4 separate regions of the Homo sapiens genome follow, and all the other regions are linked to region 2. Evidence: promoter capture Hi-C in human tissues and cell types (Jung and others, 2019). All regions are on one chromosome and are shown on one strand. Each heading gives the region's core, a stretch centred on a gene start or on the middle of the fragment in contact. The rest is flanking DNA. Distances are from core to core; before and after follow the strand shown. Region 1 has its middle 270 kb from the start of MIR3977. Region 2 holds the start of VCAN (versican). Region 3 overlaps LOC124901020 (a long non-coding RNA gene). Region 4 has its middle 270 kb from the start of RPS23.

Region 1 (2,700 bases), core at 110-2,609, 910 kb after region 2:
CTTCTATGTTTTTTAGTTTGTGTGCATAGAGGTGTTTCTAGTAGCTTCTGATGGTTATTTTTATATCTGTAGGGTCAGTGGTAACATCCCCTTTGTCATTTATAATTGTGTTTATTTGAAACTTCTCTCTTTTCTTCTGTATTAGTCTAGGTAGTGGTCTAACTTATTAGTTTTTTTCAAAACACCAGCTCCTAGATTTGTTGATCTTTTAAATTTTTGTGTGTGTCTCGATATCCTTCAGTTCAGCTCTGATTTTGGTTATGTCTTATCTTCTGTGAGCTTTGGGGTTGATTTGCTTTTACTTCTCATCTTTCAGGTGTGATGTTAGGTTTTTAATTTGAGATCTTTCTAACTTTTCAATGTGGGTATTTAGAGCTATAAATTTCCCTCTTAACACTACTTTACCTGTGCCCCAGATATTCTGGTATGCTGTATCTTTGTTCTCGTTAGTTTCAAAGAATTTCTTGATGTCTGCCTTAATTATATTATTTGCCCCAAAGACATTCAGGAGCATATTGTTTAATTTCCATGTAATTGCATGGTTTTGAGGAATTTTTTTAGTCTTGACTTCTATTTTTATTGTGCTGTGTTCCAAGAGTGTGTTTGGTATAATTTAGGTTCATCTGCATTTGCTGAGAAGCATTTTATGTCTAATTGTGTGGTTTATTTGAGTTATGTGCCATGTGGCAATTAGAAACATGTATATTCTGTGGTTGCTGAGTGAAGCATTCTGTAGAGGTCTATCAGATCCATTTGCTCTAATGTTGAGTTCAGGTTCTGAATATCTGTTAATTTTCTGCCTTGATGATCTGTGTAATACGGTCAGTTGAGTATTGATATCTCCCACTATTATTGTGTGAGAGTCTAAGCTCTTTCTAGGTCTCTAAGAACTTGCTTTATGAATCCAGATGCTTCCGTGTTGGGTGCATGTATATTTAGGATAGTTAGGTCTTGTTGAATTGAACTCTTTACCATTGTGTAATACCCTTCTTTGTCTTTTCTGATCTTTGTTGGTTTAAAGTCTGTTTTGTCTGAAATTAGGGTTGCAATCCCTGCTTTTTTCTGATTCCCATTTGCTTGATAGATTTTCCTCCATCCCTTTATTTTGAGCCTATGTGTATCATTGCATGTGAGATGGATCCCTTGAGGACAGCACACCATTTGGTCTTCCTCTTTTATCCAGCTTATCCGCACCTTTTAAATGGGGCATTTAGCTTCTTTACATTCAAGGTTAGTATTGATGTGTGTAGATTTGATCCTGTCATTGTGTTGTTAGCTGGTTATTATGCCAGCTTGTTTGTATGGTTCCTTTATAGTGTCTTAAGTGTGTTTTAGTAGTGGCTGGTAACAGCCTTTCCTTTCCATACTTAGTGCTTATTTCAAGATCTCTTATAAAGTTGGTCTGGTGGTAATGAACTGTCTCAGCATTTGCTTATCTGAAAAGGATCTTATTTCTCCTTTGCTTAGGAAGCTTAGTTTGGCGGGATATGAAATTCTTGGTTAAAGATTTTTTCTTTAGGCATGTTGCTTAAAGATTTTTTCTTTAGAAATGTTGAATATAAGCCCCCAGTCTCTTCTGGCTTGTAGGGTTTCTGCTGAGCAGTCTGCCATTAGCTTGATGGAGTTCCCTTTGTTGGTGATCTGCCCTTTCTTTCTAGCTGCCTTTAACATTCTTTCTTTCATTTCAGCCTTGGAAAATCTGATGATTATATGTCTTGAGGATAATCTTCTTGTGTAGAATCTTGCAGGGATTCTTCATATTTCCTGAATTTGACTGTTGTCCTCTCTAGCAAGGTTACAGAAGTTTTCATCAATGATATCCTGAAACATATTTTTCAAGTTATTTGCTTGCTTCCCATCCCTTTCAGGGATGCCAATGTTACATAGATTTGGCCTTTTTACATAATCTCATATTTCTTGGAGCTTCTGCTCATTTCTTTCTATTCTTTTTTTCTTTATTTTTGCCCGACTGTCTTATTTCAGAGAGTCAGCCTTTGGGTTCCAAGATTCTTTCCTTGGCTTTTTCTATTCTGCTGTTAATACTTGCCATTGCATTGTGAAATTCTTGTAGTGTATGTTTTAGCTCTGTCAGATCAGTTAAGTTCTTTTTTCATACTCGCCATTTCATCTATCAGCTCCTGTATCATTTTGTCATTCTTAATTTCTTTGGATTGGATTTTGCCATCCTCCTGAATCTTGATGATCTTCGTTCCTATTCATAGTCTAAATTTTATTTCTGTCATTTCAGCCAATTTAGCCTGGTTAAGAAACCTTGTTGGAGAACTAATATGATCATTTTGAGGACATAAGATACTCTCGTTATTTAAGTTGCCAGTTCTTGCACTGGTTCTTTCTTATCTCTGCATGTGGGTGTTCCTTTAATTGCAGTGTAGATTGAGTACAGTCAATATAGTTCTTTTCTGGATGGTTTCACAGGGCTGAGGCTTTGTGCAGGCTTTGTGTCTTTATTTGTAGCTGACTTGTCATAGGTTTTACAGGGGAGTATATTAGTGAGGTATTTTTGGTGTTAAAGCTTTGGAGTGTGAATTAGTTAATGGCACTTAGTCATAGAGGTCAGTTGGTAGGCTCTTGCTCAATCCCGTAGCTCCCTTATATTTCCTTAGAGTTGTAGCCATGCTCCCTTTCAATGCTCTGAAATGTGGGCTCCTCTCCCACTTGAGTGCCAGCTGTAGATCATGG
Region 2 (2,700 bases), core at 187-2,686:
CGCCCTACAGCGCCCACGCCTCTGCAGGACGGTGGGGCGCTCCAGCCGAGGACGTCCCCCGGGGCTCCCGGCACACGCGCGCGCCGCTGCCGCTAGACCTGCCAGTAAAGTTGCTCAACTAGAGCGGAGAACTAGGAGAGGGTGGGGAATATGTAAGGAAACGGAGGACTCCTGTAGTCTGGGCGAGAGGACTGACCCAGAGGCCCCTGATTCGGGTCCCCGAGCCACCTTTGTCTGCAGTGCGCTCTGGGTGCCGGTTTGCTTGTTGAGATGGGAGCGACAGACCCTATTTCACTCTTCAGGGTGAGAAAAATTGTTGCACATCCCTGCCGATTCAGAACAGGCTTTTCCCGCCCAGGGGCCTCCCAGACCTCCGCGGGGCTCCAACAACCCCACCCCCCATCCTCTGCTCCTTCCCTGCTGGCCCCTTCGCACCGCGTGCAGGACAAAAGAACCCAGGGGCGCCGGGAGAGAACCGTGACAGTCCCCAAGTCGTCAAAGAGACACGGCGGGGATCCTGCACCTCCCCCGGCCGGACCTCCTCCCAGACTGCCTGCGGTCTGAAGGGGTCAGGTCCGCGCAAGGTCCCAGGCTGCTTGGGCGCCGGGTCGCACTGTCAGGAGCTGCCCGGGAGTGGCTTTCCAGGAACACCAGGCACTGACCACACACCAGGGGCTGGGAAACCAGGTGGCCTGCACCAAGGCGGCTTCGGGGACTTGTCTGTGGCAAGTCTTGGTAGTCCCCATTCAAACTTTTGCCTCGAGCGTGTTAAGAACAACAACAACAAAAAAATCAAAGTGCCAAAGGTCCCTCTCTTCTCTCCAGCTCAAGAACCCACCACTTTTCTATGATTTCTTTACAATTTATTCCCTCCCTTCCCCCAATTCCGTTAGTCATTTTACCCCCCACCCCACCCTGGGTTTCTTTTGTCTGAATCTTTTTCAACACCAAGGTCCCTCTGTATGCCTCTCCCCAAAAGCCCTTATGAAAGTTACCTGCATTTTTTAAGTGCCTACATTTTCTTAACTTCGCCTTACAGCTCTTTGCCTTAATTAAAGCCTTCTACCAATTGCTTCTTTTTTCTAAGCTCGCGGGTTTTTTTCTATAAGTTTTTTGTTTTTGTTTTTTAAGGGGGGAACAAAAGAAACGTGATTACCTTGGAAGGCGGCTTATTGCAGTTTGGGGGGAAAATTCACTGCAGCGCTGCGCGACTGGGTTCGGCGTTGCCCAGGCGGGTCACATAGGAAGCGTGGTGGCCCGGGGAAGGATGCGGAGGGTGCGGGACGGTGCTGGAAGATGCGGGAGGATGCGGGGCTGGCCGAAGATCTTGGTCCCAGCTCCTGTCCACAACACCTAATGTTCTCGGCTGTTGCGTCCGCACGCCTGGAGTTCTTCCCCAGAAAGGCTCGGGGCAGCTCGCCTGCAAGTTCAAATGCGGGTTGTGACACCCATCATCATTATATCACTGTACCGTCAGAGCCGAGGAGGAGACTCAGCGAGAAGAAGGAGGAGGGAGAGGAGGAGGGTTCATTCACAGGCTCCAAAAGCGCTCCGCAGCTTCAGCCACTCCTAAGAGTCCAGGCTTGGAAAGCAGGCGGAGGGGCGGAAAGGCAGCTCCCCGCGCCTGCGGTAGGGACCGCCTGCCTCCCTCCCCAGGCACTCCCACCTCTTGGCGTTTCTTCCTGACAAGAAGTACCAATCGGCTTGGGGACAGCAGCGCTCCCCATTCAGGGACTCACTCAGTAACATCGCTCTGCTCGCGGAAACCACTGCCCTCCCACTCCTTCCCCACCCCCATTTCCCCGCCCCCCGTGCAGCTAGTTCTGGGTTAGGGGAAAGGAGCCCCCAGGCTCTTAGGGGGCAGGCCAGCAATAGACAATTGAGTACGATCACTTCTTCTCGGGAGCACACAAAACTGTAAAATCAGCAAAGAACTTGGTTACAGCGTGTTTACGCGCCCACAGAGCTTGCCTGTCCCATCAAAGGGAAGTGTCAGGCTCAAGGCTCCTGCCAACCTGAAAGAGACACTGAGAAAACGAGATCCTTCGGGGACCTAGAGGGAAAGTGTAAGAATTCCCCACTGCACTCCCAGGGAACTGCCCAATGGGGAGCCCGGCTTCAAAAGACCCTGGTAATAAAAGGCTGGACAGGAAATTCCCCCAGGCAAATCCCTTGTCGGATTCAAAGAGAATACTTTTCCTCTGCCACAAATCTCTCCCCACATAAGTCTAGATTCTGCTTTCTTCGTTCTTCCTTTCCTTCAGTCTTTCCAAGTATCTCTGAGTAGAATATTTGATAATTTTCCTGAGTAACAGGGACTTCTTGGAAGTATCAATCACCTTTCATGCTTTCCGGAAATAAGACCATAATCTTTCATGCGTATATGCGATTTTTTTTCTTCAGTCAGGCCCACCCCACTGTGTAAACAGCATCAACACATGGAAGAGTCCCCTGCATTGTGTTACAAAAGATTTCCAATAGGACCTTACAGAGAAAAGGGTCAAACAGTTGACACAAAGGATTTCTGTCCCCTTAGAAAAGAGGGACTTTGGATTTTCCTTTTCTTTGAAGTCAAGTATGAGTTTATACAATAGGAACAAAATAAATCCAAGGTGCACATCAGTATAACACTAGGGATACTAGAATGGATGGCAAACTTTTCCTTCTACACAAATATGAAAGTATCCTCACAACTCTTCT
Region 3 (2,700 bases), core at 47-2,546, 660 kb after region 2:
AACAACAATCTGGTAATGAGGGAGTTGCTTCTTTCTGCTGGAGTGAAATTCCTCTACAATGTTTTTCCTTTGTGGCTGCATTTTCTAGCATCAGTAGGAGTACCTTCTGAAGAGAGTAAGTCCAGTTCACTATTGAATCTGCATTCAAAGATGCCAGTAAGCAGGTAAGAGAAAAGTGTTTTTTGTTTTTGTTTTTGTTTTTGTTTCGTTTTGTTTTGTTTTTGAGACAGAGTCTCTTTCTGTAACCTAGGCTGGAGTGCAATGGCGAGATCTCAATCACTGCTACCTCCGCCGCCCGGGTCCCGGTTCAAGCAATTCTCCTGACTCAGCCTCCCTAGTAGCTGGGATTACAGGCACGTGCCACCATGCCCAGCTAATTTTTGTATTCTTAGTAGAGACGGGGTTTCACCATGTTAGCCAGGCTGGTCTTGAACTCCTGACCTTGAGATCCACCCACCTCGGCCTCCCAAAGTGTTGGGATTACAGGCGTGAGCCACCGCACCCTGCCGAAAAAAGTGTTTTGTAATTGAATCACATGAGACTATGTGGAAAGAAGTCTGGCTCAGTGAATTAAAAATTTTCATTGGTTATCTTCTTATAGTAGAGTGTTTCCCATAGAAAACACCTTCATGGGCTATCTTTTCCTAATAATGTAGCCAAAGTTGGTCAAAATCAAGAAATCTTGTGTTAGCTTCACTGGAATGCTTGTCCAAATTTTTTCATTGCCTTTCAATTTTATCAGCTTGCCAGCACATGAGAAACCCACAAGCAGCCCACAACCCAGGACACACATCTGTCCAAAAAATTATCTGCTCTTTCTCCTATCTAAACAATAAGAGTTCTGGTAAGGATCACATATTTGGTTACTGGTAAGTCCCTTGTAGTATGCCTTACAGGCTCTGTAACCTCTATTGGATCAAATTACACGTGGTGTGGAAGAGGAGAAAGAGTGGAATGCTGCCATAATCAGTGTTGGGTAACCAGAGAGGAAGGAACAGTAAAAAATATCAACAAAAATAAATATGGAGCTCTTACTCCATGTGAGACACTGCCTTAAACATGGTGGGCCATAGAAACAACCTTAGGATCGAGTTCCTGTCCTTAGGAATCTCTGTCTAAGTGGAGATTATAGAAATACAGAGTCATCACTTGAAGCCTGTATTTTGAACGAGTACATAACAAAAGGCCGAAGACTTAGCAATGGGGACCCTGAATTAAGAAGTGGCATCCTCCCACTACTCTCAGTTGGAATGGAACAAAATTCATGAGGGACACATGAGAATGTCCCCAGATCTGGAAGAAAAAAAAAGTTACTATTTGATGAGTTCATACCAAGTGCCAGGCTCTCTGTGCCTTACATGTAGTAACTCATTTAATCCTCCTGATAACCCATAGGTGATTGCTATTGCTATTTCTGTTTCACAGATTTGGAAACTGAAGCAAAGACCTTAAATAATGTGGCCACGTCATGCAACTAATAAGCAGTAGATCTGAGATTATCTCAAAGGTATACTAATGCACCTAATAGTGCACCTAAAATGACCAAATGGGTTGCTAACAGTTCCACAGTGAGAAGGAACTGGGAAGTGGTGTTATAACTCATTGTAAAGCCTGTGAATTTTCTTCAAATAAATGCATATGTAATACTCAAATACATAAAGAAAGGTTCTGTGAGCTTCCTGACAATAAGGAGACCAGATAATTTGTACAGAGACTTCTCAATGGATGAATAGCTTGAGTTCCAAAAAATCTTTCCCCTTTTATTCTATTTTTTTTTCTTTTTCTTTTTTTTTTTTTTAGAGACAGGGACTTGCTACATTTCCCAGGCTGGTCTTGAACTCCTGACCTCAAGCAATCCTTCCACCTCAGCCTCCTAAAGTGCTGGGATTACAGCTTTGAGCCACTGCACCTGGCCTTCCCTTTCATTCTTATATACAAAGTACCATTATATAAATAAGTAGTTGTGCTTTTGTTCTGATGCATAGTTACTCTGTGTCTATGAAAGATGGTACATTGAAAAATTTTTAGGCATTGAATTTTTGACTTACAAGACTTCAGAATCCGGAAGCATCATGTGTACAGAGGAGATGAAAAACTTTGAAGTTGAAGGAAGGTCCTTGATCAAAAGAAAGGGAAAGTAGTGTTTACATAAGTGAGAGGGATATTCCCATTTCCAAATGGAAATTTTGTTTAGGTGAAGAGCCGCTAGTAGTACAATGAAGTACAAATCCATTTATTCAACCAGGCCACAGAACCATTTGCATTCTATGTGTCTGGCTAGGGGAAGTAGTCAGTGAAACCCATTAAACAGTGCTCAGAAGAAACCATCCAGCCCAGTACAATGAAAATGTACTTTTCAAGACCCAATGATCTATCCAAACATCATTTTAGTTGCTGTGGGAGAAGAATGCCATCATTCCTACTCAATAGATTGCATTATTATTGGGGAAAGAAAACAAAAGCATGCAAAATGAGAGCATGAGATGCTGACCACAGCCTGGGAGTTAAGGAAGAGATTAAAGGAAGAAACACCTTCCTGACCTGAGTTTTCTGAGAAAATGGAGCTGGAGCTTGGTAACACTCATCAATAGCCCAAAGATGGACTTTTGGGACTTTGCCTGAGAGCCTGTGGAGAAAATAAAGACCTGGGCTGGATAGTTTCTTCTGAGTACTGTTTAATGAGTTTCACTGACTACCTCC
Region 4 (2,700 bases), core at 11-2,510, 920 kb after region 2:
AGTTCAGGACCACAATGAATCCTTTTAGCATTTAGTAGTCTTTAGAGTTTTAAGTTAGTGCAAATTCAGAGTAGAGATATGTTCAATTTTTATTTTGCATAAAATAATTTTTATCCATGCATCTTCTATCCACTTCCCTCTGAAATGTCACTATACACCAACTGATTTACTAAAAGAAATCTTCCGAGTTACGCTTATTTTCATTCAGTAGTAGTATGTTCAAGCTGTGCCTCTCCTATTAGACAAATCAATATTAAGGTTTATTATCAGAATTTGTATAAGAATATCCAACACCATCAGACTTTATAAAAGAATCAAATGCAAAAAAAGAAAAAAAGAACAATTATCTATGGACCAAATACAAAAGAAGAGAAATTACATAAAAATTAATAAAGATTCACTTTGTATACTGGAAACAATTAGTTCTTAAAAAATTACTGCCAAAATTCATTTGGAGAAATTTACTTTTATGCATGAAGAAGGCTTCTTTTAGGTTCTAGGTTTTTGGAAAAGAAGAAGGAGCAAAGTCTTTACTGAAATTGTGTGTGTGTATGCATGAAATATATGTACATATAATACATGTATATATCATATATATGTGTGTATGTGTGTATGTATATATATATATATCTACCTTTGCTGATTTTGGCTTATGATATTTTACACCACTATTATGAGACAGAAAGGACTTCTTTGCGGGAATTTGGCAAGATTAGAAATGAGTCGATGACTCTCATTCTGGGATTCCGTGAGGCATAATGAAAAGTCTCCCACTTTAGAATGAGGCATTCCTGGATTTCTATCCCCACACAAGCTGCACATCCTCAACAAGGCACTTAAACCTCTAAATTTAACATCTTCAAAAACAGGAATAATACTTATCTGATGATGTTGATGCAAAGGTTGAATAAAGTAATGTCTATAAGGTGATTAGAACATTTTTTTAAATCATTACTATTATTTTAAAATCTTTGAGTTGGCACAGGGTTTATTCAGTTCATTTAGTCCAACTTTTGCTACAGTAACCCATATCAAAATTTCCTGACAGATAGATGATCCTATGACCTCTGAAGGAGAGCTCAGTATCTCACCTGTAGCCATTCCATTTTTATAAATATTTTTCTTACAATAAACCCCCAAACTACCTCCCCATAACTCATATCCATAGCCTGTTCAACTTTCTAACATTAAATAAGGAGTACATTTAATCCCTTCCCCTACTTATGATAGATCTTAAAATATTTAAAGACTATCAAATTGAAGAAATAATTTGAGCATTAAGTCCTGCAAAGAAAATGACTTTTCTTACCAAAACTATATATTTTATGCCTTTAACCATTGTTTTCAGACCCTTGAACATCTGGTTACTCTTCCTTATCTACTATTCTAGTAGATAAAGCTATTTTATATTTGGAATTCCATTATTTTTCCTGTAATAGACTATTATACATACTTTATTTTTTTGTTTTAGTGATTGCACTTAAAAGTTTTAGCTTTCATAATTAATTTAACATTGTGAAGTTAATAAAAATTTTTATCCACCTTGAAAAACTATACACAAATCTTATAACAATTTAACCTTAATTATTTCCCTCCCAAGTTACATGCTTTTGATTATCTGTATTTTCATTTACCTTTTTATAAGCCCATATATTTCAGATTATCTGGCCCTATTTTATATTTATACATGACAGATATTTTAAATTTCAATGTTACTATCTAGTATATCAGCTATTTTTACCGAATTTGCAGTATTTATTAATGTCTTCCTCCAGGTCACGGGTGAAAATGTTGAGGCTTCTTTTCTGTTCTAGCTATGGTCAGCATTGCTACCTGTCCACTAGACCCCATTCCTCTCATCCACCAAGAACATTCCTCCAGGCATCATTTTTTCTATAAATCATATCAATATTTTTTTTTCTTTTCTACTGAATCATTCTCATACCAACAGGCTATTATTTGGGGAACCATAAAAAATACAGAAAACTCTTTATGACCTTACACTCCATGTCTCTTCTTTCCTTTATAGCAAAAGTTTATGAAAGTATTGTCTATACCAATTGTCCCCTATATGTATTTACTCTCATTTTATCTTAAATTTATTTCAGTAAAGTTTTGCCTAACCAATCTATTGAAGCTTCCTTTATGAAAGTCATCAATAACCTCCTCCTTACTATTAGTTCATTAGTTGAGCTATAAACTAGACCAGCAAAGTTTATCACTTGCCCTTGAACACTTTTGTAGCCTGGTTTTCTCTGCCTCTCTGGAAGTTCATGTTCAGTCTCCTTTACTACTTCTTCTGCATCTCCTTGATCTCCAATGCCAGATTTAACAGGTTTTTGTAAACTTTATCCCACATAGTTTTCACAGGAACCCAGCAAAATAAGCAGTATCAACCCTAGTAATAAATTTTAGCAGATGATTTTTGGAGCCCTCTTGGAAGCATACGGTTATCAATTTATCAAGTTTTTCCAGGAAAATATGATCTTTATTGCCATGCATGTTTGATGTGTAGATCAGAGGAAAATAGATATAATTAACTGTATTTTCACCAAGTCTTCAGGCACTATCATACCTGACATTTTTGGAGAAGAGATGATAAAATGTCTAGAAATCTGAAAAAAACAGATGCAATTTGTACCGATTAATGGATCCAAATAAAAAACAAGAGGGGACTTTAGTGCCACTTCATTATTATGT

The links. The method cuts DNA at HindIII sites, captures the fragments that hold promoters and counts their contacts. A contact is called where the count stands out against the background at its distance.
Region 1: a contact is called between a fragment that was not itself captured here and the fragment with the promoter of VCAN in region 2, in 2 of the 25 tissues and cell types used here (dorsolateral prefrontal cortex and lymphoblastoid cells).
Region 3: a contact is called between a fragment that was not itself captured here and the fragment with the promoter of VCAN in region 2, in 1 of the 25 tissues and cell types used here (heart right ventricle).
Region 4: a fragment that was not itself captured here is called in contact with the fragment with the promoter of VCAN in region 2 in 1 of the 25 tissues and cell types used here (dorsolateral prefrontal cortex).

The regions. Positions count from the first base shown.
Region 1 is chr5:82,565,024-82,567,723 of GRCh38, reverse strand. No RefSeq gene overlaps it. Among named protein-coding and RNA genes, the nearest start is that of MIR3977, 270 kb to the left of the region's middle. The HindIII fragment of the contact is 5,226 bases long and covers 1-2,700 here.
Region 2 is chr5:83,470,480-83,473,179 of GRCh38, reverse strand. VCAN (versican) reads right to left here and starts at 1,436. Exons shown (of 15, transcript NM_004385.5): 1 at 1,157-1,436. RefSeq lists an enhancer at 135-1,007. The HindIII fragment of the contact is 7,638 bases long and covers 1-2,700 here.
Region 3 is chr5:82,814,254-82,816,953 of GRCh38, reverse strand. LOC124901020 (a long non-coding RNA gene) reads left to right here. Exons shown (of 2, transcript XR_007058846.1): 1 at 1-164. Among named protein-coding and RNA genes, the nearest start is that of MIR3977, 25 kb to the left of the region's middle. The HindIII fragment of the contact is 5,543 bases long and covers 1-2,700 here.
Region 4 is chr5:82,546,563-82,549,262 of GRCh38, reverse strand. No RefSeq gene overlaps it. Among named protein-coding and RNA genes, the nearest start is that of RPS23, 270 kb to the right of the region's middle. The HindIII fragment of the contact is 3,180 bases long and covers 1-2,700 here.